7 separate regions of the Homo sapiens genome follow, and all the other regions are linked to region 6. Evidence: promoter capture Hi-C in 16 types of primary human blood cells and fetal thymus (Javierre and others, 2016). All regions are on one chromosome and are shown on one strand. The core of a region is centred on a gene start or on the middle of the fragment in contact, and the rest is flanking DNA. Distances in the headings are between cores, read along the strand shown. Region 1 overlaps OPHN1 (oligophrenin 1). Region 2 overlaps OPHN1 (oligophrenin 1). Region 3 overlaps OPHN1 (oligophrenin 1). Region 4 overlaps OPHN1 (oligophrenin 1). Region 5 overlaps OPHN1 (oligophrenin 1). Region 6 holds the start of AR (androgen receptor). Region 7 overlaps OPHN1 (oligophrenin 1).

Region 1 (3,557 bases), core at 230-2,729, 610 kb after region 6:
ATAAACGGAGTAGCAGAGATTTTTTTTAAGTCTATTAAAGGTGAAGTCTATGCTGACCAAGTTAAGTAGTGTAGAAATCGGGAGTAGAGCCAGGTGACAAAAAGCATGCTAGAGGGTGCAAAGCACAGTTTTTATTAGACAAGCAAGATCAAGTAGAGAGGCAAAAATCAGTTTCAAGTGAAACTGCAAAATTCTACCCATCCCAAGAAAAGCAAATATAATGACCAAGTTAAGGAAGAATCAGAATGAATTTTAAAACTGTTCTGAAGTTGTGTATTAGAGAACATAAAGGCACAGATCACTACATAAATCAGTGGTTCTCTCATCTACAGTTTTGGCACACAAAAAAAGGAAAATGAAAAATTTACGTCAGTTGCTCTCAGACTTCAGTGGACATGATAGTAACCTGTATACTCAAGCTACCTGATATGATTAGCCTTTGTGTCCCCACCCAAATCTCATCTTGAATTGTAATCCCCATACTCCCCACATGTCTAGAGACAGACCTGGTGGGAGGTGATTGGATCAGGGGGCAGTTTCCCCCATGCTGCTCTCCTGCCACCATGTGAAGAAGGTCCTTGCTTCCCCTTTGCCTTCCGCCATGACTGTGAATTTCCTGAGGCCACCCTAGCCATGTGGATCTGTGAGTCAATTAAACCTTTTTCTTTACAAATTACCCAGTCTCGGGTAGTATCTTTACAGCAGTGTAAAAACAGACTAATACACTACCTCTTCAGAAATTTTGATTCTCAGATCCCAGGATATTTAACAAACATTCCAGATGATTAAGACACAGATTGCCCACCACCACATGTTGGACATACTCTGCCCTGTGTAGGCTGTGCTTCTGATATCTTACTAGAAAACCCAACCTGATAAGCAGCTTACAAAATGTGAAGACTGGGATAATGTAGAGAAAGAGTTCTTGTTTCTCTACAATAGGTTTCAAAGTAATGGTAAAACAGTTGTAATAACAGAGGTTATGGTATGGCAAGTACCAAATCTATTTTTTAAAGAAAAATACAAAGAATAAGAAGAAATTTCAACTGATAAGATAAAGCCATCTGAGTACCATACAGCAATTGAGTGTCCTTATATGTCTAAAATAGCAATGGCATGCCAAATACAGAGAAAATGTGTCAGCATCATCAATAACTACAAATTTCAGTTCAAAATATAACCATGGTATCAGGGAGGCCAGGATATTCATATATAATTAGGGGAAAGATATGCATTTCCCTACTTTATCAGAAATTTCTTAAAGAAAGATTAATAACATCCTTGCCTAAAGCATTGTTTCTTAAAGAAAAAAATCTTTTGGCAACCTAAATCAGAATCACTTGGATTGCTTGTTTAAAATGCAGATTATCATCTTAGTTCTGATGAATCAGAATCTCTGAAGGAAGAGGTAAAAAAAAAAAAACACATCTCAGATTCTGGGTAATTTGAAAAAAAAAAGATAAAAAAAGAAAAAAGATAAAATAAATATAAAAATATAAGACATGCATACACACACAAACATACTGAAATATGAAATTCAGAGGCTTTTAGTATATTCACAAATTGTACAACTATAACCATAACTAATTATAGAACATTTTCATCATGCAGAAAGAAAGCCCAAACCCTTCAGCAGTGAGTCCCCATTTCCCCTATTCCCCACCAGCCTGGGCAACCACTAATCGACTTTCTTTCTCTGTAGATTGGCCTATTATGGAAATTTCATATAAATGCACTCAAACAACATTTGATCTCCTATCACTGCCTTCTTCCATTTAGTATAATGTTTTCAAGGTTCATTCATGTTGTTATGCATCAGTACTTCATGCCATTTTATTGCAAAAACAATATGACTTGAAAAAATTTACAAAATGTATCACATATGAAAGAAGAAATGAAGAGACAACTAGATGCTTATTTCCAAAATCAAGCAAAATTAAGGATGTAATTTCATTTGTAGACAAATCCCGATAATTGAACTCTTGTTTATTGACAGCAAGTATAACCAAAGGGAGTTTCTATAAAGACCCAAGATGCTTACAGTGCACATAGTATGTAGTAAAAATGATGACAATACCAGCAATGCTAGAAGTAACTCCATGAATAGGAATAAAAGGTAAAAATTATGCCTTGAAAAGATGCCATGGTAAGGCGGACGACTTTTTGGAGTTGTGCTGTAAAGTAACCATATGCACACTTGGCCTAATTTAATCTGAATTTATATTAAATAAAATTTAAAATATATTTCCTCAGTTGCACTAGCTATCTTTCAAATCCTCAGTGACCACATGTAACTAGCATCTACCACATTGGATAACTCAGACAGAGAACATTTCCATCATAATAGAAAGTTGTATTGGACAGTGCTCCTCTGGGGATAGATAAAATTGCCATACTGTAACTCATTTATTCACTCTAAAAATATTTATTAAAAGTATACCATCCAATAGTATGTTGGATAAAGAAACTGTAGTACATATACACCATGGAATACTATGCAGCCATAAAAAGAACAAAATCATGTCCTTTGCAGCAACATGGATGCAGCTGGAGGCCATAATTTTAAGCGAACTAATGCGGGAACAGAAAACCAAACACCACATGTTCTCATTTATAAGTGGAAGCAAAACATTGAGCACACCTGGACATAAACATGGGCCCAATAGACACTGAAGACTATTAGACGGGGGAAGAAAGAGGAGGGCGTGGGTTGAAAAACTAGCTACAGATACTATGCTCACTACCTGGGTGTAACATATGCATGTAACAAACCTGCCCACGCACCCCCTGTATCTAAAATAAAACTGGAAATTTAAATAAATAACAAAATAAAATAAAATAAAAAGTCTACTTTGTGCATGGCACTGATCTACATACTAGGCATACCACAAAACACAAAACAGACAAAATTCATACCCCTATGGAGCTTAAGTACTAACGATGGCAAAGAAAGGATAAACAAATAATTAAAATATATGACAAAATACATTAAGTATTGGTAAAATGAAATATGAGGGATCAAGAGAGATAAAGAGGTGCTATTTTCTTTTCTTTTTTTTCTTTTTTTTCTTTGAGACGGAGTCTCGCTCTGTTGCCCAGGCTGGAGTGCAGCGGCACAATCTGGGCTCACTGCAAGCTCCACCTCCCGGGTTCACGCCATTCTCCTGCCTCAGCCTCCCAAGTAGCTGGGACTGGGACTACAGGTGCCTGCCAAAGAGGTGCTATTTTCTATCCAGTGATATGGGAAAGTTTCTGCAATAAGGTGAAGTTTATGTTGAGATCTGAAGAAAATGGAGAAAGAGCCTTGCGCAAAAGCAGTGTAGAAAGAGAAACTAGCTAGTGCAAAGGCCAAAGGCAGGTATAGGCTGGACCTGTTTTCAAACACAGGTAGGTACTGTGGCTGCAGGGCAGTGACATATACAAGAGTACAAACAAAATATAAGCAACTGTGTATCAAACACAGATGTTGGAGGAAAATCCTGCTGTTGTCTGGAAAGTTTGGTTAGACTGTTATTATTACAGTATACTTTTTGTATGTCAAATGTTTCTCCACGTTA
Region 2 (4,063 bases), core at 1,289-3,788, 590 kb after region 6:
TCATATATTAGGTTACAAAGAAAACATCAGTAAGTTCCATAAAGTTGACATGTTATAAACATTGTCTAATAATAATACTACGATAAAGCTAGAAATCACTTTTTAAGTCCATTCCGCATGGAAAATTATAAGCTTTCTCTTAAATAATTCTTTAAAGAAAGAAATACAAATTAAAATCACAGAATGTCTTTAAAACATGATCATGAAAACACTACATATCAAAATCTGTGGGATACATTTAATGAGGCGATTAGAGGAAAATTCAGTTTTTGCCCATTCAGTCTGATATTGGCTGTGGGTTTGTCATAGATAGCTCTTATTATTTTGAAATACGTGATCTAGAACTAGAAATACCATTTGACCCAGCCATCCCATTACTGGGTATATACCCAAATGACTATAAATCATGCTGCTATAAAGACACATGCACACGTATGTTTATTGCGGCATTATTCACAATAGCAAAGACTTGGAACCAACCCAAATGTCCAACAATGATAGACTGGATTAAGAAAATGTGGCACATATACACCATGGAATACTATGCAGCCATAAAAAATGATGAGTTCATGTCCTTTGCAGGGACATGGATGAAATTGGAAACCATCATTGTCAGTAAACTATCGCAAGAACAACAAACCAAACACCGCATATTCTCACTCATAGGTGGGAATTGAACAATGAGATCACATGGACACAGGAAGGGGAATATCACACTCTGGGGACTGTGGTGGGGTCGGGGGAGGGGGGAGGGATAGCATTGGGAGATATACCTAATGCTAGATGACACGTTAGTGGGTGCAGCGCACCAGCATGGCACATGTATACATATGTAACTAACCTGCACAATGTGCACATGTACCCTAAAACTTAAAGTATAATTAAAAAAAAATAATAATAAAATGTTGAGATACTAAGTGTCAAAAAAAAAAAAAAAAGAAAAAAAGAAAAAGAAACAATAGGGCTTGGCTGGCGAGCCCCACTGAGGAGCCGGAGCTTGGGCCGCACTTACCCGAGTCCGCTCCCGGTCCCTGGCCCGTCAGCGACCTGGCGAACCAGGCGACGCTGAAGCGGCCCATGGACTTCGGTACAAAGCTGCTGAGTCCCTGCTTCCCCGAAGCAGCCGTGCTGCACCCCTCTGCCCAGCCCCACTCCGGGCCTCAGGCCCCCGGACGCCAAGCCGCCGCCGCTTCAGACGCAGACCCTACCGCCAACTCTGCAGCAGTCCGCCCCACTCGGCAGCAAGCGGCGCCTTACAATTCCGGAGAAAATTTTTCAGAACATAAAACTAGAATACAGTCGTTATCAGAGGTGGAGACATTTAGAAATTGTTCTTAATCAGAGTGAAGCTTGTGCTTCAGAAAGTCAACCTCACTCCTCAGCACTCATAGCACCTAGCTCTCCAGGTTCCTCATGGATGAAGAAGGACCAGCCCACATTTACCCTCTGACAAATCGGAATAATACGTGAGTGTGTCTTAGACTATGAAGACAAGATTCAGGAGGAGTATGAGCAAATCCTCAATACCAAACTAGCAGAACAATATGAATGAATCTTTTGTGAAATTCACACATGATCAGATTATGCAACGGTATGGGACAAGGCCAACAAGCCATGTGTCCTGAAGCTTTGTTATGTATCTGGGTACCAGGTTTAACCTCAAGAGATGCCTGCTGTACACTTTTTGCAACTGGTTTGACAACACATTTCAGCTTCAATTTTGCATCCTGAGAACACTTAAACGTTTCTGTAGGTCCATTTTATACAACTTGAAAGACCTTAAAACTTTTTGGTTGCCACAAGCATATCTCCCTTTTTCTGCTCATCCAGTAAACAGCTGTGCCCTACTGTGATAGATTTTCCAAAACAAAATACTTGGAGAAGCAGTTTAGCAAAATATGCCTTCAGTGGCACTCAACAAATGGAGCTTCCCCAAGCACAGTTCTGTAAGAAGTGTGTATGAGAGCGTGTGTATGTATATTTCAAGTTATTATTTGTATAGTGCAATTTTTTTTTGATCTTGGGGATTCTGGCTGAGCTTGATTCATGACAATTATGGTTAAAAACATTTGCTTGGCCGGGCGCTGTGGCTCACGCTTGTAATCCCAGCACTTTGAGAGGCGGACGTGCTTGGATCACCTGAGGTCAGAAGTTTGAGACCAGCCTAGCCAATATGGTGAAATCCCGTCTCTACTAAAAATACAAAAATTGGCTGGGCATGGTGGCAGGCACCTGTAGTTCCAGCTACTCAGGAGGCTGAGGCAGGAGAATCACTTGAACCAGGGAGGCAGAGGTTGCAGTGAGCCAAGATCGCGCCATTGTACTCCAGCCTGGGTGACAGAGTGAGACTCTGTCTCAAAGAATAAATAAATAAATAAAAACAAAAAACAAAAAAAAAATTGCTTGTTCTACAGAAGATCATTTACGTTTTGTGACCATATAAGTTGCAACAGTGGATTGTTTTTATGTGTAGGTTTTATTGTTAAATACAGGGACTGTTTCCAGGCATAGAATATGAATCATAAGTTAGGATGGACATTAGCTGTGATTATGATAATACAGCAAAGGTCTGTGGTCCTAGATCTACAAATGTGTGGTGAGAAATATCTACAAATGTGTGGTGAGAAATTAGAACAAACTGGAGATGGGCCATTGACACATGGACTCTGCCTAAGCGTGTTAGAAAAATACTTTGACTCCAAGCCTTAAAATACTCACATGGAGTCGGCGCTCACCTCATTCACACAATCATAGAGCTCCCTGGACACTGAACCTCTAAAGGGAAAAGGTCTGCCCTGGAGCAGAAGGATCATGGTTTGCTTGGGAGCATAGCAGGTAAGCTCAGAGCTGGGCCTGGGCCTGGGCCAGGGCCAGGCCCTGGCAGCACTGCTACTTGGGAAGAGCCACTTCACCTTTGTATCAGTTATTAAAAATAGAATTTGGATCCTTTGGTGAGGTTCTCCCAAATTCATTTGAGGTGTCCATGGTCAACTGCTTGAGCTGTTTTGGCAACCGCCTGCCCGAAGTCACATTTAGGCTGTTCTTCACCTTGTTTCCAAGACTGAGGAAAAGAAAGTAGCCTCTGTTTTGAGCAGGTAGAAGTATACATTTATTTTTTTACTGCAACTTGCTCAGGACCATATTTTACAAAATGCCTTGTTTCCTTTATTGTTTCTGGAAAGGAAAAGTTCTATTTATATTCTTTTAGTTTGAATATAGAATAGTTTTTTTAATCAGGACTTATTTTGAAAAAATCTGAGTTTAATTCAAATGCATGCCAATACCTTACAAAGTAAGGTAATACTCAGAGACAGTTGTTCTGATCAGATGGCTTAGAGAAATTTCTGGAATATTCACGTTCGAAGATTCCTTATTAATGAATATCTTTGACTTAAATCTAACCGAAAACTGCAACATTATTCTTTGCACATTTTCATTATATAGTGTTAACAAGCTTAGTTGCAAACAAATAAAAATACTTAAGCTATTTGTTTACCTTGCCTTCTTAAAAAAATAAACAATAAGGAAGCCAGTGAAAGTAAAGTGGAATAAAGAAGGGAGAGTATTAAAAATGATGAGACCAAGAGAGAGAATAGGGTATTGGACAGGGGAGCGGGAGCTATTATATAGGCCTTTTGGGTTATTGGAAGGACCTTTGCTTTTACTTTGAATGAAATGAGAAACCACTGGTGAGTTTTAAACAGAGGAATGGTCTGCTCTGACTTGGCCTGAATACAGAAGAACAGTCTAGCTGCTGTGTAGACAACAGTAAGAGCGTAACTGGGACAGCAGAGAAAAGAGACATATAAAAGGTCTATTTCAATAACATGGAACAAAAATGGCTGTGGCTTAAATTTTAGTAAAACTGGTGGAGATGACTAGAAGTGGTCAGATTATGTATATAATTTGAAATAAGACCCTACAGAATTTGTTGGTAGATTAGCTGTCAAAAATCATACATGACAAAAGTTTTTAGTCTGAGAGAGTAGAAGAAACTGAAATGGAGAAGCTTATGGATGGAGTATGCTTGGAGAGAAAGATCAATAGTTCATTTTGGACATGA
Region 3 (3,937 bases), core at 403-2,902, 570 kb after region 6:
ACATATATAAATAAAGCCTTTATATTCACACAACCCTCAAGTTAACCAATTTTCTCAAGCCCACTTAAGTAACACTAATTATGAAAAATAATAGAACTCTTGAGTTAGACAGCAAGCAAGAATACTTTCATTTGGCAGTTGTGCATAATTTGTGTATGTGTTTTAGGTTTCTGTGCCCTCAATCACTTCCCCTCAAACAATTTTCTAGGCTTATTGCAGTAAACATTAAGAAACTAGGACAACACAGTTAATTAGTAACATAAATACTTACTGGCAGCAGAGACCAGCTCTTTGTGAAGTCTATAGGTCATGACAGGTTCAGAAAGATTCCTGAAATGAATGAAAATTGTCAGTTGCTTTGGGAAGAAAGCAGCTGGGTATTGGATTCTTAGTTCTGGGGACAGCAAGGCTGAAGTTCCTGAGCCCTACAGCTTAGTGGGATTATATACATTTTTCTCTTCACCTGAAGCTTCGTCAGGGAATCCAAGTTGCTAGTAATTCAACAAAAGACCTGCAAAAGCATGGGCTGAGCCCTCTAGCAAGGTCTCCAACTAGCTCCCAGAAGTAAAAAGAGGCACAAACCAGTCCTGCAAAATTCCAGAGGGGACCCATGCTGAATGCTACCATGAATCCCTTACGATTTGATAGATCCTTAGAATTTCCGAAGTGCTTTTGCAATTGTCCTCCCAATAATCCTGTGAGGTGGAGCAGTTATTCAAATCCCCATTTACGGGAGGAGGAAACTCAGGCTCAAATGGGTTTACTCATTTAGTCAAAAAACATTCTCAGTAAACTATCGCAAGGACAAAAAACCAAACACCGCATGTTCTCACTCATAGATGGGAATTGAACAATGAGAACACATGGACACAGGAAGGGGAACATCACACTCTGGGGACTGTTGCGGGGTGGGGGGAGGGGGGAGGGATAGCATTAGGAGATATACCTAATGTTAAATGACGAGTTAATGGGTGCAGCACACCAGCATGGCACAAGTATACATATGTAACTAACCTGCACATTGTGCACATGTACCCTAAAACTTAAAGTATAATAATAATAAAAAAAAAAAGAAAAAAAAAAACATTGGCTGAGCATTTACTTGTACCTGGCATTGTGCCAGGTACTGGGGATCCAGAGATGAATAGAAATAGTCCAAACCTCCAACGAGCTAATAGTTTAGTAGAAAAGAGCACCATACACAAAATTTGCAATGCAGTGGGACAAGTACGATGACAAAATAAAGGTATATGGTAGGTGGCTCAGAGGAAGTAAGTAATCAACTAATAATTATAAGAATAGCAAACTCTGTACTGCTCTAAGTGATTTACATGTATTAACCCATTTAAACCTCATAACAACTCTGTGAGGTAGGTACCATTTCCAGTTCATCGATGAGGAAACTGAGGCCTAGAGAAGTTAAAAACTCATCCAAAATTACACAGCTAATAAGTGGCAGAAGCAGGAAGTCTGTCTCCTGAGTCCATGCTCTTAATTACTATACTATACTGCCTGCCACTGTTGTTACTGTAGTAATCCAAGCAAAAGATAATAAAAGACAAACAGAGGGGCTAGTCATGGTGGCTGACATCTGTAATCCCAGCACTTTGGGAGGCCAAGGCAGGAGGATCACTTAAGCCCAAGAGTTCGAGACCAGTCTGGACAACTGAATGAGACCCCTACCTCTTAAAAATAACTTAAAAACAGTAGCTGGGCATGGTGGTGCGTGCCTGTAGTCCAGACTACTCAAGGGGCTGAGATGGGAGGACTGCTTCAGCCTGAGAGAGAGAAGGGTGTGGCGGGAGGGCAAGCCTGCAATGAGTCATGATCACAACACTGCACTCCAGCCTGGGTGACAAAGCATAGAAAGAATAGGTGAGGAGACTGTTTTGAAAAATATTAAAGAAAGAACTCCTTCTTTGATTGGGTATGATGGCAAGGGAGCAGTTTGGTTTGGGTGAGTGAATAGAATAAGAGTTGATTAAGAGGGAAGTAGAGATGCTAAGTCAGGGAGGCCTCAGGAAGGTGATATCTACTAAGAAGCTGGATGCAGGGCTCTGCTAGATCAGAGAAGCAGATGTGAAAATCAGGAACCTAGAGAACAGATGACGAAACCACAAGAACAGATGCCACTTCTCCAGGGGAGCTGGCAAACTGGCAGTCAAACAGCTACATGAGGTCTTCCGATATTTCTTCTTTGTCCAGCACAGTGTATAAAAGTGAAATGGAATTGAATCAATGATCAAAATATTTTAAAATGAGATATTTCATATACAAACCCATATCCCCTGTCCCTGTTGAAAAATGCAAAGATCTGGCTCTATTGGTTCTTTGTAGAAGTAAACAACACTGCTGTTTGTATGTAAACAAAGGGCTTGTCATACAAATAAAGGTTCAATGTGCAAAGTGTTTAATATGAAAATAGTCTACTTCATTCAGTTTTATTTCCTGGTCCCTGTAGATATTTCAGTTTTCAGTTGTTCTACTATAGTAAAATGAGCAGAGAGCCCAGGAAAATACCAAATAGAAAGCCCATAAAGGAGATTGACTAAAATGACCAAAGAGGTTAGAGAAAAACAAAAAGCAAGTGATTCAGCAGAATCCAAAACAGAAGAAAGTATCAAAGAAGGCTTGTTAACAACTTCAAATGTTACAAAAAGGTCAAGTAAGGTAAAGACTGACAACTGTGCTTTGTGTGCAGCATTGAGGGTATCCCTGGTGACCCTGGCAAAAGCAGCTTCATTGGAGCAGAGGGGGTAAGAGTTAGATTACAATGAGTTAAGAAGGAACTGGGGAGTTAAGAAGTACAGACCAGGAGTGTATATTACTTGACACAGAAGCTTGGCTGATGTTGACAAAAAGAGTGAAACTGTGTACAATATTTTAAGAGATTTATTCTGAGCCAACTATGAGTGACCATGGCCTGTGACACAGCCCTCAGGAGGTCCTGAGAACTTGTGCCCAAGGTGGTCAGGGTACAGCTTGGTTTTACATATTTTTAGGGAGGCATGAGACATCAATCAAATACATTTAAGAAATACATTGGTTTGGTTCAGAAAGGCAGGACAACTCAAAGTGGGGGCTTCCAGGCTATAGGTAAATTTAAACATTTTCTGGTTGACAATTGGTTGAGTTTATCTGACGACCGGGATCAATGGAAAGGAATGTTCAGGTTAAGATAAAGGATTGTGGAGACCAAGTTTTATTGTGTGGAGGAATCTCTCAGATACCAGACTTTAGAGAGAGTACGTTGTAAAATGTTTCTTATTAGACCTAAAAGGGCACCTGGCTCTTAGTTGATTATCTCCTGGATCTGGAAAGAAATGAAGGAAAACAATGGGGGAAGGGGATTCTCTATAGAATGTGGATTTTTCCCACAAGAGACTTTGCAGGGCAATTTCAAGGTATGGCAAGAAAATATATTTTGGGATAAAACATTTTCATTTTCTCCCTTGTTATGCCAGAGTCAGATTGGAAAGTAAGTCATGATATACAAGGTTAAATAAAACCCATCTGATGAGAATTTATGGCTTGGAGGGCATGACTCCCCAGACCCCTTAGAAAGGAATTTGGGCAAGATGAAAAATCAGAGTTTAGTCCTCACCGAGTAAAGTATCTCATTAGGCAATCTTGTTTAAGTTCCTGGCTGTAACTATCATCTATATGGTCAATGATCACCAATTTTTTAGTTCAAGCCCTGAACTCATCACTGAGTTTCAGACCTATGTATTCAATTGCCTGCTTAATATTGTGCCCTGATTTCTTCAAAGCTACCCAAATTCGACATATCCAAATTCCAACTTATTGCCTCCCTCAAACTTAGTCTTCTTGTGTTTCTCAAATCAGTAAATGCATGACCATCATTTGGTTGTATGGGCCAGAAACATGGAAGTCACCTTTTTGTCTCCCTATCCCTAATCCTCATATCCAATTCATG
Region 4 (3,918 bases), core at 599-3,098, 530 kb after region 6:
CAGTAAGGGAGCCGGCTGCTGATGTGTGCTTGGGAAGCTTGCAGAATCCTGATTTCCATATTTTAAAGGATGTGCTGTTACTGGCTGCCGGGGAGAATGAATTACAGGCAAGGAAGAAGGCAAGCAATGATACCAGGTAAGAGATAATAGTGGCTTACAGTGATAGAAGCAGTGGGCAGTAGTAGAAGTTAGCATATAATGTGCAGGTAGAGCTGACAAGAATTGCCAATGGATTCAATATGAAGGAAAAAGGGAAAGTAGTAACCAAGGATGATTCCAAAGTTCTTGACCTTAGCAACTGGATGACTGCTGCTGCCAATTACTTAGATGGAGGAGACCAGAGTAGGAGCAGGTTAAGAAAGAGTCAGGCATCAAGTTATGTTTTGCACAGTGTAAACTGAGATGCCCATGAGTCATCCAAGGAGAACTGTTGAGCAGGAAATTTGATATGACAAAAGAGGCAAGATATCAATCTTAGATAAATTTGGAAATCATCTTTAGCATTTAAATGATATGTAAAACCATGAAATTTAATGAGATCACACAGGAAAAGAACATGATCAGAGAACAGGACTAAGAAAAAAGCTCTGGGACCTTCTAACATGTAAAGTTGGGAAGAGAAGGAAAACCAGGAGAGAAGACTGAGATGGATTATCTGGTGAGATTAAAGGAAAATCTGGTATCCTGAGAGCCAGGTGAATAAAGTGTTTCAAGAAGGAGGAGTTAGTCAACTGTGTCAGATGCTACTCACAAACTGAGTATGATGAGAACAATGTTGTAGCTATTTGGTTTGGCCTCATGGAGATTATTGGCAAACCTGACAAAAATGGTCTTAGTGGAGTAGGAGGGCAGAGGCACATTTAGAATGGGTGTAGTCTCCACACTAGCAATTATTCCACTGAAGGCATTTATTTCTTCACTTATCTATGTCTCCATTTCTTCTGTGAGGGCAAGCAATGTATCTTAATTTCACCTAGCACAGTACCTGGCACATAGTAGTTATCCAATCCGTGTTTGCTATATTTGAATTTAAAATTTCACAACATTCACCTTGCTCACCCATTTCAATATATTGGGGGCATAAATCTAAGAACACCTTGGATCCTGCACTGGCCTTATAGGGATCCTCCACGTGGTAACTTCCTTTACAAGCTCATCACCATCCTATCTGCTGTCAAAGGCTTAATCCCCTCTCTGAGCACAAACTACAAACCCTGGCTGCTTTTAAGCTCAGGAGCCAGGAAAGGTCTACTTTTATAGAGAGAAAAATGGTCATGCCACCGCTTCTGCCCTTCGATATCCTCTTTGTGTCTAATCACCATTCAGAAGCTAAAGGTGAACCTCAGTACTGACCTTCGCTTTCATCCAGGGAAGAAGTATAGAAAACCGTCCTTTCTCGCAGCAAGCGCTTTGAAATCGTGATTGGTTTGTGCCTTCTTGCTGTCACCCGAGGCGGAGGCACTGGCGGTGCAGCGCTTTCCTCAGGTGGACCTAAATAGATCTGTGGAGAAAGAAGGAAGATATCTAGAGAATAATTAGATCAAGTTTTTGTCTTCTGAATGCTACCCACCAGTTGATGCTTGTTGGCCTTATATCTAGAGTTTGTAACGTGAATACTAACATGACTCAAAGAATCAGAGATTTTCTTAATCACTCTAGCTACAGGTAAATGTTTAGGTATCTCCTACTATGCTCAAGGCACAGAACCTGGCACTTCTCAGTTTGGAAGAAAAAATGCCTATAAAAGATGGCATTAGTCCTGGATTTTCCATGTCCTTCCTGGGAGACCTTAGGCAAGTCACCTCACTTCTCTGAGCCTTGGCTTTCTCATCCGTAACATAGGGACAGCATCACCCACTTCACAGAGTGTGGTAAGAAAGAAATTAAAGGAGCTGTCAAGGTGCCTTCTATGGGTGGGGGTAGGACATGGAAGGAGACTAAACACAATTACATGCCCATATGCCTTAAATAGTTCTGAAGGGATACCAAAGAATCTGATTACATTGTTTGTCTCAAGGTAGGACTAATGATTGGCTGGGGAATACAGGGAGAACAACTGTGTTTTCCCTCCTATGTCACTTTGTTCTTTTATAATTTCATGCCATGGTACATTATCTATTCAATAAAAAGTAAAATAAAATTAAAAAGCAACAACACAGTGCCTTGGATGCTATAAGAAGTGCCGAAGGCATGCAGAAGGAGCTGTGATTAGAATTTTTATATAATGTCTCATGTGTACTTAAGGATTTTCCAGTCTCCATGGAGACCAACCTTTTAGCCCAAGTGCATACACTATGGGATGATACACATATGTGATGGAGAAAGGAGACCACTGTCTAGCCAGTGAGACTAACAAAATCAACCCCAGTGATTAGTGTAAAGAGAAATGTCAGAGCCCAATATCCCATCAGGCAAGGGTCAACACAGACTACATGGGCATGGAAATAACATGATTGAGAACACAAGGCAAGCTGTGTAAAAGGTGGACAATGATAAGAAACAATGCATGAACAATCACAAACCGTGAGTATATGCCTCATGATTGTAAGGAAGACAAAATGTAACTTAACAGCAAGCAGATTAATGTTGAGGCCATACGGTTCTAGGTCATATTCCTAATTCCACCATCATTAGTAATAATAGTCTAAAGAGCCACCATTTTGTGAGCTCAAACACTGTAGTAGTTGTTACAAATATTCCTTGCTATTTTTCGAATACATGAGGTCGTTGCACTGACTGTTTCTTCCACCCAGACTGATCTTCCTTCAGATATCCATTCTTCTAGGATTCTAATCAAACATACTCTGCTCAGTAAGCCCTTCCAGGTCAATATATTTAAAACAATGACATGCCTCCCTCTACGCAAGCATTCCTATCTTCCTTCCATTTTAATTTTTTTTCTCTTCAGCATTTCCTATCACTTTCTAACATATAACACGTTTTACTTATTGATTTTGTTTGCTGTCTGTCTCCAAGCTAGATTTTACACAACATAGAAGCATGTCTGTCATGTTCACTGCTCTATCTCCACCACCTAGAAGAGGGACTGGAATTGCTGAGGCAAAAAACAAATACATTTGCAATTCTAATGTAAAAGGCCAAACTGTCACCTGAAAATACTACTACTATTAACAGCTACTAACTACTACTACTAAAATACTACTACAAACAGCTACTATCTTATTCCGGCCAAGATAGGGCACAGAAACTAGTTTTACTCATTTAGCCTGAAACAAGTAAAAACAAAACAAAACTAGGAAAAATACATGCAACAGTAGTTTTAAAGGCATTGGAAATCCAGCAGTGAAGGACAGTGAATGCTGAGAGACTGAAAAAAACAAATGAGGTCAGCCCTATGAGTTTCCCAGCTTAGAGTTTTGCAGGCTGCAGTGCAGGAAGGGGAACCCAAGTGGAACCCAGTAGTATCCCTACGTTGAGAAGACTGAATTGGGAGTATGGGAAAGACAAGGAAGTGAGAATTTGCAAGGCAAAGTGCCAGAGAGATTTTGTACACTAAAATCTTCAAAATATTGCTGAGAAATATTAAGAAAATCTAGATAAACTGAGATATATTTTGTTTGCAGGTATAAAGACTCAATAGTGTTAAGATGTAAATTCTCACAAAATTGATCTACAGACTGAACACAACCCAAATACCAGTAAGCTTGTATGTAGACATTGACAAGCTGATTCAAAAATGTATAAGGACATGCAAAGAACCTAGAATAGCCAAAACAATCTTGAAAAAGAAAAACAAAGTTGGAAAGCTAACACTACCTGATTTCAAGTCTTATTATAAAGCTACAACAATTAAGACAGTGTGGCACTGATGTCAAGATAGGTGAATAGATCAATGGAACAAAATAGAAAGCCCAGAAATAGACCCACATCTATACAGATAAATTTATTTATTTATTT
Region 5 (3,835 bases), core at 961-3,460, 630 kb after region 6:
AGGGGAAAACTGTATGACATTTTATTTAGCAATAATTTTTTGAATATGCCACGAAATGCACAAGAAAGAAAAGGAAAAAATAGATAAATTGGGCTACAACAAAATTAAAGACTTCTGTGCATCAAATGGGAGAAAATATCTGTAAATCGTGTGTGTGTTAGAGATGAGGGGTTAATACTGAAAATATATAAAGACCTCCTAAATCTCAACAAAAAATAAACAAACTGATTCTAAAATGAGCAAAGAATTTGAATAGACATTCCTTAAAAGAAATAAATAGCCCGTGAGCACATGAAAAGATATTCAACATTGTCACATGGAAAATGCAAATCAAAACCACAATGAGATACCACCTCACACCCATTAGAATGGCTACATATCAAAAATAAATAAATAAGGAAAATTCAAAGTGTTGGTGAGGATGTGGAAAAACTGGAACCCTTGTGCACTGTTGGTGGCAATGTGAAATGGTAAAGCCACTATGCAACATAGTATGGTGGTTCCTAAAAAACTAGAAACAGAATTACTATATAACCCAGCAATTCTACTTTCTCGACATATACTTAAACCCATTTATGCTGGCAGTTGCAATTTTTTTGAATTTTTGCAATCAGACCTTGATGATGACCTTGAGTAGTAAGATATAAATAACTCCTACATGCTTAGCATTCCAATAATGGAACACTAGGCATAAATGGGTTAAAGAAGTAAAAGCAGCTTCTTGAAGGGATATTTGTATATCCATGTTTACAGCAGTATTGTTCATAGTGGACAAAAGGTAGAAGCAGCCCAAGTGTCTATCCACAGAAGAATGAATGAACAATACATATTGTTTTTATATATACATATATATATATATATATATGCATACATACATAGACACACACAGTGGAATATTATTCGGCCTTTAAAATGAAGGAAATTCTAAAACATTCTACAACATGGATGAATCTAGAGGATATTACACCAAGTGAAATAAGCCAGTCACGCAAAGACAAATACAGTTTGATTTCATTTATATGAGGCACTTAGAGTAGTCAAACACATAGAGACAGGAAATAGAATGTTGGTTTCCAAGAACTAGGGAGAGAGGAGGATGGAAAGTTGTTAATGTTGTACAGAGTTTCAGTTTCCCAAAATTAAAAGAGCTCTGCATATTTGTTGCAAAATAATGTGAATACAATGAACATTAATGAACAATAAACTTAAAAATAGTTAAGATGGTAAATTTTGTCATGTATATTTTACCACAATTAAAAATAAAAGTAACAAAAATACTCCCTAAATGGGGGCTTGATTAACCCTATATGAAATTTTAAGAATATACAGTCACAGCTAGATAATCTGGTCAGTTGCTGTATTATTCTTGCATTATTATAAAGAAATACCTGAGATTGCATAATTTAATTAAAAAAAAAGAGGTTTAATTGGCTCACGGTTCTGCAGGCTATACAGGAAGCATGGTGCTAACATCTGCTCGGTTTCTGGGGAGGCCTCAGGAAGCTTACATCATGGTAGAAGATGAAGGGGGAGTTGACACTTCATGTGGCCAGAATGGGAGGAAGAGAGAGAGTGGGGAGGTGCTACACACTTTTAACAGCCAGATGTCACAAGAACTGACTCATTATCACTGGAACAGCACCAAGTGGATGAGGCTAAACCATTCACGAGAAATTCACCCCCATGATCTAATCATCTCCTACTAGGCCCCACCTCCAACATTGGAGATTACGATTCAACATGAGATTTGGGCAGGGACACAGATACAAACCATATCAGCTGCTCATAGAATAGACCTATATTTTAAGAGGAATGTTATGCCAATTGACTGGCAGTGTATATGTTATTTTGTATTATCTCAATTAGAAAAGTTTGGAGATTTTAACATTAATACTTACATTTGGGAGAATTTTATTGATCTCTGATATATCCATGTCAAAATACCCCATTACACACTATATTAGGTAGGTTTTGTTTTCCTATGGCAGCATTTTTATTCCTTTGCCTAGTCTGTGAACATGGTGAATTGACAGAGACAGACAAATATACATTTAAAAATTTCCTAATCATATCAACCCTTTAATTTATTTTTTAAACTAGCTCTTTGTTGAAGAGTTCAAAATTCAAATTGTGCAAAGGGTTTTATAAGGTGAAATGTATACCTCCCCAAATGTATGGCCAGTTATCAACACTATAAACTGAATTAAACACTTCATTCCAAATGATCTGAAATTCTACCTTTATCATACGCTAAATTGCCACATATATTTGAATCTACTTTTGTGGTTTTTTTGAGACGTAATCTCTCTCTACCACCTGGGCTGAAGTGCAGTGGCGTGACCTTGGATCACTGCAAGCTCCGCCTCCTGGGTTCAAGCAATTCTTGTGCCTCAGCCTCCCTAGTAGCTGAGATTACAGGTGCGCACCACCACATCCAGTTAATTTTTGTATTTTTAATAGAGACAGAGCTTCACCATGTTGATCAGGCTGGTCTCAAACTCCTGACCTCAGGTGATCCACCCACCTCGGCCTCCCAAAGTGCTGGGATTACAGGTGTGAGCCACTGCGCCCAGCCCAGGTCTACTTTTGAATTCACTATACTGTTTTCACTGTCTAAGCATGTACAAATTCCAAATTGTTTTTGTCAATTGCAACTTTCTTATATATCTTACTTCTAGGTATGGTTCTTCTATTTCAAATATTTCCTGACTCTCGGCTCAAGGTGATACATACATATAAACATCAGAAGCAGATTGTTTAGTTCCAAACAAATTAATTTCCAGATATTTTTCATCGTGACTGCATTATATTTATACAGTAAGAAACTGACATATTTACCACACTGGATATCCCAATTCAAAAAGTGGCTCTGTGTTTGTATATATTCAAGCCTTCTCTCTAGTTCCCTTTTAGCATTCCAAGCTTTTCTCCATATAGATGTTACACATTTCCTGCTCAGTTTAGACCTAGGTATTTTATGTTTGGTTAATTTCTTCAAAGGGAATTTTTCTTCCATTTTATTATACAATTTATTGTTGTATATAGGAAAGAAATTTCAATCAACTATCTCACTAAATTCTCCTTCTCAGGAATTTTTTAGGTGAAGCTCTTGATTTTTCTAACAAGTATAGCCTCTCTAACATATGGATATTGCCTCCTCCTTTCCAATTTTTATGATTCTACCTTAGTTCTATGTTTCTTTTATTAGTCCTTACAGAATATTATTCTCTGAGAGAGGCAATAATGTATATCTTTGTCCAGTTCTCTGACACTGCTGAGAATATAAAACATTTATATTATGAAAAAGATTCTCTCCTTGAGCAAACTTGAGTCAGATTCCTCTGAATTCTCTTTCTGATTAGGTCCCAACCTTGGGTCCTGTCTTTGGCCCACATAGTCTGGTTTCAGTAAGAATCCTGCTGAGTCAGTTTAGTGAAAATCTCCTACTCTAGGTATCTGATCACTGTATCCGGCTTTGAGCAAGTATCCTATCAAGTCAGTTTACTCACAATCTCTCCTTACTCCTGATGTTTCCTCTTAGCATTTCTCCATCCACTGCTTCCCACTGTCTTAGTCAATTTTCTGCTGCTATAACAATACCACAGACTGGGTAATTTATGAACCAGTTTATTGGCTCATGATTTTGGAGGCTAAGAAATCCAAGAGCATGACATTGTCATCTGGTGAGGGTCTTTATGTTCATCATCCCATGACAGCTGGGCAAGTTGGTGGTCAAGACAGAGTGAAAATTAGGCCAGACTTATTGTTTTATCAGGAGCCCAGTCTCACAGTAACTAACCCATTCTCATGAAAATACAGCCCTCATGACTTAATC
Region 6 (3,904 bases), core at 1,405-3,904:
ATATATCAATTATACCTCAGTACGGCTATTAAAAAGAAACCCTCTGGCTGCACAATGCAGAACTGATTCTAGGAAAGAGTGGAGGGAGGATGACCATTTACAGTGCTCCAGGTGGAAGAGAACGGTGCCTTCTGGAAGTGAACTAGGTTGGCAACAACAGAGATGAAATAAATGGGCAGATGTGTGAGATACTTAGGAAATAAAACCCGATGGTCACCATTTTCCAAAGGTCAGCTCATCCTGGCTTTCCAGAGCAAAGAGCTAGGGAAGACTTTATTAATAAATCCCTCTTGAAGTTGCAGAGGAAGCTTATAGCAGAAACTTACTCTCAACCTGACTAATCTGAGAGAACACCTCTGGTTCCATTTGATTACTAAAAAACTGCAAAGAACAGGAGGAGAAAGAAGAAGAAAGCTGGTACAAACAGTGAACTTATATAATATTAATCAATAATTGTCTCTTGTTCTTAAAAGCAATGGGAAGAAAATGAGATTTGAGCTGGAAGATCAGAGTTCAAAATCCAAATAAAGTATATGGCCCTAATATGCTTATAGTAGTTAACCTTTCCTGATAATGATATAATTGTTGACAGCACCATCTTTAAAAATAAAAATAACATAGTAATCCTTCAGATTTGTAGAATGCTTTCCTGTTTACAAGTTTGTTCTATACACATTATGTCTTTTAAATGACACACTAGCCTTCTGAGGGTAACTTATATTGGCAACAGTTTTCAGATGTGGAAACTGTGAAGACAATGTTGGTGATGTGGAAGCAACATAAACTTTGGAGTCTTTCAGACCCAGGTTTGAATGTCAGACTGCTTTTTATTCAGAGTAACTTCAGAGCATTATTTCTCACCTTAATTTTTTTTCAGGCCTCTTTGTGTCTATGTGTCCTCTTCACTCCTGTCCATTGTTCATTCAGTGATTTTTGCACCTTCCTTCACTGTTAGTGTGTAGACACATAGTTCTCCTGGCTCTGAGACCTATGTTAATTCCATTCTACCATCCTGCCAGCCCACTCAATTCCTATTGAGCAATGCTAGTTGAAAGTTGTGGTGGGATTAAATGTTGCAATGAGTATTCAAATGAGGTTGAAGTATCTACGCATTCTACTTACATATGGTGAGGTATATTCAAGGAAGGCTGTAGCCATTAAAATCTCAGGAAATAATTTTTCACCTCCTCAGGTGAAAGGGTCTTCAGGCCTTTGTGTTCTGGAAGGTTCATTTATAGCCATTTCCCAAATGACAATGCGATTGATGAGTCTAGAGTCTAGCTCAAATAGCAATGGACTGGAAGACTAGTTTAGGTTTTACTAATGTGGAACATAGAACAAATTATGTCCTTGTTTCAGCCTGTTCATCTGTGAAATAGAGCCTATCATATCCAGTCTTCCTTGCCTTTAGGTTTGAGTTACCTTCTTTGGTCAAGGTAAGTAAATGCCTATGATGTTTGGCTGTGCACAAGATAAAGCTACAACAAAGCTACAACCCATCTTTTCTCTGTAGAAGACTGCAAAAAGCAAAAGAGACCCAGGCAAAAATCTCGGAATGACTTTTGGAACAGAGAGCCTCCCCAGAATCAGAAGTCAAAGGAATTTAAAACATAGGGAGGCCCAGGGTCTCTACTGACATAAAGGAAAGATGTTTTCCTTATAGGTTTACGTTTACATTTTCTCTCTCTTTCCATTCCCACTTGCATCTCCACCTTTACACAGGGCTTATGGGACCTCCTCCACAAAAGAGCAGTTGCAGTAACCCACATCATCCTCTACGCCTGGCTGTCCATCAAGAGGCGAAAAGCAGCCCTATATAGGTTCTATCCTTGGATAGTTCCAGTTGTAAAGTTTAAAATATGCGAAGGCAACTTGGAAAAGCAAGCGGCTGCATACAAAGCAAACGTTTACAGAGCTCTGGACAAAATTGAGCGCCTATGTGTACATGGCAAGTGTTTTTAGTGTTTGTGTGTTTACCTGCTTGTCTGGGTGATTTTGCCTTTGAGAGTCTGGATGAGAAATGCATGGTTAAAGGCAATTCCAGACAGGAAGAAAGGCAGAGAAGAGGGTAGAAATGACCTCTGATTCTTGGGGCTGAGGGTTCCTAGAGCAAATGGCACAATGCCACGAGGCCCGATCTATCCCTATGACGGAATCTAAGGTTTCAGCAAGTATCTGCTGGCTTGGTCATGGCTTGCTCCTCAGTTTGTAGGAGACTCTCCCACTCTCCCATCTGCGCGCTCTTATCAGTCCTGAAAAGAACCCCTGGCAGCCAGGAGCAGGTATTCCTATCGTCCTTTTCCTCCCTCCCTCGCCTCCACCCTGTTGGTTTTTTAGATTGGGCTTTGGAACCAAATTTGGTGAGTGCTGGCCTCCAGGAAATCTGGAGCCCTGGCGCCTAAACCTTGGTTTAGGAAAGCAGGAGCTATTCAGGAAGCAGGGGTCCTCCAGGGCTAGAGCTAGCCTCTCCTGCCCTCGCCCACGCTGCGCCAGCACTTGTTTCTCCAAAGCCACTAGGCAGGCGTTAGCGCGCGGTGAGGGGAGGGGAGAAAAGGAAAGGGGAGGGGAGGGAAAAGGAGGTGGGAAGGCAAGGAGGCCGGCCCGGTGGGGGCGGGACCCGACTCGCAAACTGTTGCATTTGCTCTCCACCTCCCAGCGCCCCCTCCGAGATCCCGGGGAGCCAGCTTGCTGGGAGAGCGGGACGGTCCGGAGCAAGCCCAGAGGCAGAGGAGGCGACAGAGGGAAAAAGGGCCGAGCTAGCCGCTCCAGTGCTGTACAGGAGCCGAAGGGACGCACCACGCCAGCCCCAGCCCGGCTCCAGCGACAGCCAACGCCTCTTGCAGCGCGGCGGCTTCGAAGCCGCCGCCCGGAGCTGCCCTTTCCTCTTCGGTGAAGTTTTTAAAAGCTGCTAAAGACTCGGAGGAAGCAAGGAAAGTGCCTGGTAGGACTGACGGCTGCCTTTGTCCTCCTCCTCTCCACCCCGCCTCCCCCCACCCTGCCTTCCCCCCCTCCCCCGTCTTCTCTCCCGCAGCTGCCTCAGTCGGCTACTCTCAGCCAACCCCCCTCACCACCCTTCTCCCCACCCGCCCCCCCGCCCCCGTCGGCCCAGCGCTGCCAGCCCGAGTTTGCAGAGAGGTAACTCCCTTTGGCTGCGAGCGGGCGAGCTAGCTGCACATTGCAAAGAAGGCTCTTAGGAGCCAGGCGACTGGGGAGCGGCTTCAGCACTGCAGCCACGACCCGCCTGGTTAGGCTGCACGCGGAGAGAACCCTCTGTTTTCCCCCACTCTCTCTCCACCTCCTCCTGCCTTCCCCACCCCGAGTGCGGAGCCAGAGATCAAAAGATGAAAAGGCAGTCAGGTCTTCAGTAGCCAAAAAACAAAACAAACAAAAACAAAAAAGCCGAAATAAAAGAAAAAGATAATAACTCAGTTCTTATTTGCACCTACTTCAGTGGACACTGAATTTGGAAGGTGGAGGATTTTGTTTTTTTCTTTTAAGATCTGGGCATCTTTTGAATCTACCCTTCAAGTATTAAGAGACAGACTGTGAGCCTAGCAGGGCAGATCTTGTCCACCGTGTGTCTTCTTCTGCACGAGACTTTGAGGCTGTCAGAGCGCTTTTTGCGTGGTTGCTCCCGCAAGTTTCCTTCTCTGGAGCTTCCCGCAGGTGGGCAGCTAGCTGCAGCGACTACCGCATCATCACAGCCTGTTGAACTCTTCTGAGCAAGAGAAGGGGAGGCGGGGTAAGGGAAGTAGGTGGAAGATTCAGCCAAGCTCAAGGATGGAAGTGCAGTTAGGGCTGGGAAGGGTCTACCCTCGGCCGCCGTCCAAGACCTACCGAGGAGCTTTCCAGAATCTGTTCCAGAGCGTGCGCGAAGTGATCCAGAACCCGGGCCCCAGGCACC
Region 7 (3,822 bases), core at 75-2,574, 550 kb after region 6:
CTGCCAATTGTACACTGTCTTGACTACTGAAGCAATACAGTAAGCATTAATATTATTAATACCTACCTCCAGTTTATTATTTTTCAAAATTGTATTAGCCCTTACAGTTCCTTTCCATTTCTACATATATGTTAGTATTATCTTGTCTTTATCTACAAAAGCTCTTGCTGGGATTTTGATATTGATTACCTTAAACTTATAATTTTTAAAGAATTGACATCTTTATCATGTTGAGTCTTCCACTCCATGAACACAGTATGTATCTCAATTTATCTAGATTTTCTTTGACTTCCTTCATATTCTCCACATTGCAGCCAGAATAAGCCTGTTAAGCCTAAATCAAATCCTGTCACTCCCATGCTCAAAACCCCCCTTCTATCTTACCCAGGCAGAGCAAATCTAAAATTCTTCCAGTGGATTATAAGACTCCACTACAGGATCTAGTCTGTCCCTCTCCATTATCTCTTCGAGCCCATCTTTTTCTATTTCATCTTTTGCTTAATCCACTCTAGCTAGTCTGGCCTCCTTGTTGTACCGTGAATATGACAGGCACACTTCTGCCTCTGGGATTTTGCACTTACCATTTCCTCAGCCTAGAATCCTTTCTCTCTGGATAGGTGAATGAATCATTCCTCTACTCCCTATCGATCTCTGCTGAAAGGTCATCTTCTCTGTGAGGCCCTCCTCATTTCCTTATTTTCTCCTTTCCTATCTGTATTTAAAATTGCAAAACCACTTTCCAACCCTTCCTATTTCCCTTCTCTGCTTTTCTCCTTAATGTTCATTACAATCTAAAATATTATATACTTTACTTACTTTGAATACTATTTGTTTACTTTTTCTAAATATAAACTCTATGAAGATGATATCTAGAGTTCCTGAAACAGTACCTGGCATAAAGTGGGTACTCGACACATATTTGTTGGATGAATCAATTGATTTATCAATTTATCACATCTGGGCTCTAGAACAGGGGTCAGCAAATTACAGCCCACAGGCCTGTTTCCCATTTTGTAAATAGAATTTTACTAGAACACATCTACAACCATCTGTTTCCATATTGTCTATGGCTGTTTTCTCACTACAATGGCAAAGCTAAGTAGTTGTGACAGAAATCCATGGCCTGCAAAGGCTTAAGTATTTATTATACGGTCCTTTAAGGAAAAGCTTTCTGATCCCTGCTTTAGATTCACATAGTCAACTGCTCGCCAGGCATTGCTCCCTGGATGTCTTTCACAAATCTCAAATGCGACCTGTTCCAAACTGAACTTTCCTCTATCTCCCTCAAACTTTCCCATTCTGAATTTCTTATATGTATAAGGACAGCCCCATCCACCCAGTCAGCCAAGTCAGAAAATCAGGATTCAGAAATCTCCCTCTCCCCCATCCTTGGTGACTTCCAGTCACCAAGTCCTGCTGCTTTTGCCTCCCTGTGCTTCTTTATTGAATTATGCTTTTCCCTAGGATGGCACTAGCTGCTATGAAGCTTATACCCCAGTGTGCAGGGCCATCTGTTGCAAGTGTACAAGAATTTGTCAATAAATATTTGTCTTAACCTCATTCTGGGCATCATTTTCTGACTCTACCTTTGTTTTACCTTTTGTACTTGACCTGATTATAATGTATGATGCCTTATATTTTATGTGCAATATAAAATATGCTACCATATATACTTTTGGAATGAGATGGGGTTCGAATAAGTGTAAGCATTGATTTCTTTTTAGTTTTGATGGAGTTCAGGACCTGCTATCCCAAAATATGGCACTTTGGCGTTTGTGGAAACAGCAGAAGCAAGAAGGTTTCTCTACCTTCTCCCCTGGAGCAGGCCATAAAAGAATTCTCTGACCTTCCTCTGAAGTAGGTCATTCCAGAGGTACCCTCCCTATAACTGAAGGAAAAGAACATCCCTATCCTCGAAGACACAGAAACACCAAGAAGAATCTGAACAAACAAGCCTTGCTAAGATCCCCCTAAGTTTATTACCATTAGATCATATCCTTCTGTCTTCTAATCACTAATCTTCACAACGATCCATTTCATCAAACTTAGTATAAAAAATGCAAGAGTTTACCTGCTTCTTTGGGTCTTCATTTCTAAAGGTTCTTGTGTCATGTAAAACTTATTAAATAAATTTGTATGCTTTTCTCTTGTTAATCGGTCTTTTGTTATAGGGATCTCAGCCATGAAACTAGCAATGGGTGAGAACATAAATATCTTCTCCCCTACAGTTTCATTGTATATAGACTACTTTTATACTATCATTTTCCTATTTACCCATCTGTCTCCATACTACACATTGTTAACACCTTAAAGGCACAGACAGTGACTTTTTCTTCTTCATTACCCCCAGTATTTAGCATGGTGTCTGAAAATAATATAGTTATAAGCTTAAGCAATGTTTGCTGAATGAATGAATTTCCCAGGGTCAGAGTTGCCATTAAATGTCATTGTGTCATAATGGGATTTCCTTTCACTGTCAACGTGAGCCAAGGAGGAAGACACAGCACTAAAAGGCAGTTGGGGGAAAGTGTCACATGTTTGGAAGACAGGTAGTGAGAATAGAAAATGCATACCTTGCCAAAGTGCTCGATTAGTATTTCCACCACTATGTTCTGGAATTTGATGTTCATCATGGCGGCCACAGTGTCCTCCTGAGCTCTCATCAGGGTGGGCCCAAAGATTACTCCCATGTTGGAGGGGGTCATAAGATTCTCTTTGCTGTGCTCACACACACTGCCAGAAGAAAAGGGGCAAGATTAACAAAATTTGCTCCAGTATCCCCTTACAACCAAGACTGTTTTAGGTGCTGTAGAGGGTAAGAGAAACTAAAATGTAGAAGGAAAGGAGCACCTAAAGTATGTATTGGAAGGCAAGATTACAAAGGAAACAATCAGCAAAGAATACAAGATAGTATAAAATTAGGAATCAAAGTGGTTAGACATAGCTAACCTAGCTAACAGCATTGAAGGAATTAAGAGACAGACAGGGATGTGGGGAGGGACTAAAGCTAGTGGGATACTATTTGGAGAGGCAGGAGGGAAGCAAGAGGACATTCAAAGCAAGAGGAACAGCCCATATAAGTATAAAGCATGTACAAAGAACCACAAAGCACATTGAGAGAATGCCTACTAGTCTCTTAAATCAGCCCCTTCCTGACCCCCGTTAGAGAAGCAAAAACCTGAAAGAGCTGAAAGGGATCATTAAGACTTGCCCTTGATCATCTTCCTTATTTTACAGATGAAAAAACATAGGCCCAAAGAAGGAAAGGAATTTGCTCGAAGTCACAGTCAATTAGCTGTAGAGTAGAACGTGCAATCCCAGATTTTCTGATCCCTAGTCACTTTCATTGCTTAAATTCCCTTTAGTGGCTTCCTACTTTGGGATAGGGCCAATTCTCTTCAAAGTGACAAATGAGGCCTTCCATAACTTGAGTAACTTGACCCCTATTTCCAATCCCTACTCACTGCTTAGGCTCTGAAGCTGGGTTTGAATCCCAACACGGCCACTTACCAGCTGCGCAACAGTGAGTTCACTCACTCTAACCTCTCTGAACTTCAGTTTTCCCACCTGGGAAAATAGCACCCACTTCAGAGAGTTGTTGAATAAATAAAGATAAATTGCTTCAGCATGGTACCTGGCACCCTGGGAAGTATCTGTTGTTATTATTACCTCTCCAGGAGCCTTCAGGTACTGCTGACCTCTGACACTCTTGTTATACTAAACTGCTTAGATTGGGGTTGTCTGGTTATACCACATTGTTTCAGACCCCCATACCTCTCTGCTCATGTCGTTCTCTCTACCTGGAATATCCCCCCTCTCCCT

What was found. Contacts are between HindIII fragments. The CHiCAGO score rates a contact against its expected background, and 5 or more counts as called.
Region 1: a contact is called between a fragment that was not itself captured here and the fragment with the promoter of AR in region 6, in 1 of 17 cell types (M2 macrophages). The highest score is 7.1, in M2 macrophages.
Region 2: a fragment that was not itself captured here is called in contact with the fragment with the promoter of AR in region 6 in 2 of 17 cell types (M2 macrophages and monocytes); the score reaches 5.5 in M2 macrophages.
Region 3: a fragment that was not itself captured here is called in contact with the fragment with the promoter of AR in region 6 in 1 of 17 cell types (M1 macrophages); the score reaches 5.2 in M1 macrophages.
Region 4: a contact is called between a fragment that was not itself captured here and the fragment with the promoter of AR in region 6, in 1 of 17 cell types (M0 macrophages). The highest score is 5.1, in M0 macrophages.
Region 5: a fragment that was not itself captured here is called in contact with the fragment with the promoter of AR in region 6 in 1 of 17 cell types (M1 macrophages); the score reaches 5.8 in M1 macrophages.
Region 7: a contact is called between a fragment that was not itself captured here and the fragment with the promoter of AR in region 6, in 1 of 17 cell types (M2 macrophages). The highest score is 5.0, in M2 macrophages.

What each region holds. Positions count from the first base shown.
Region 1 is chrX:68,154,895-68,158,451 of GRCh38, forward strand. All of the region lies in intron 15 of OPHN1 (oligophrenin 1), which reads right to left. Among named protein-coding and RNA genes, the nearest start is that of OPHN1, 280 kb to the right of the region's middle. The HindIII fragment of the contact is 5,387 bases long and covers 1-3,557 here.
Region 2 is chrX:68,131,818-68,135,880 of GRCh38, forward strand. The region is part of intron 15 of OPHN1 (oligophrenin 1); the gene reads right to left. It also overlaps the pseudogene AKIRIN1P2. Among named protein-coding and RNA genes, the nearest start is that of OPHN1, 300 kb to the right of the region's middle. The HindIII fragment of the contact is 1,827 bases long and covers 1,626-3,452 here.
Region 3 is chrX:68,112,910-68,116,846 of GRCh38, forward strand. It overlaps OPHN1 (oligophrenin 1), which reads right to left. Exons shown (of 25, transcript NM_002547.3): 17 at 272-330. Among named protein-coding and RNA genes, the nearest start is that of OPHN1, 320 kb to the right of the region's middle. The HindIII fragment of the contact is 2,371 bases long and covers 468-2,838 here.
Region 4 is chrX:68,071,799-68,075,716 of GRCh38, forward strand. OPHN1 (oligophrenin 1) reads right to left here. Exons shown (of 25, transcript NM_002547.3): 20 at 1,354-1,501. It also overlaps the pseudogene PGK1P1. Among named protein-coding and RNA genes, the nearest start is that of NXTAR, 290 kb to the left of the region's middle. The HindIII fragment of the contact is 3,627 bases long and covers 36-3,662 here.
Region 5 is chrX:68,176,129-68,179,963 of GRCh38, forward strand. All of the region lies in intron 15 of OPHN1 (oligophrenin 1), which reads right to left. Among named protein-coding and RNA genes, the nearest start is that of OPHN1, 260 kb to the right of the region's middle. The HindIII fragment of the contact is 1,419 bases long and covers 1,502-2,920 here.
Region 6 is chrX:67,541,367-67,545,270 of GRCh38, forward strand. AR (androgen receptor) reads left to right here and starts at 2,655. Exons shown (of 8, transcript NM_000044.6): 1 at 2,655-3,904. The coding sequence starts at 3,781. The HindIII fragment of the contact is 7,103 bases long and covers 307-3,904 here.
Region 7 is chrX:68,094,297-68,098,118 of GRCh38, forward strand. OPHN1 (oligophrenin 1) reads right to left here. Exons shown (of 25, transcript NM_002547.3): 19 at 2,574-2,733. Among named protein-coding and RNA genes, the nearest start is that of NXTAR, 310 kb to the left of the region's middle. The HindIII fragment of the contact is 319 bases long and covers 1,166-1,484 here.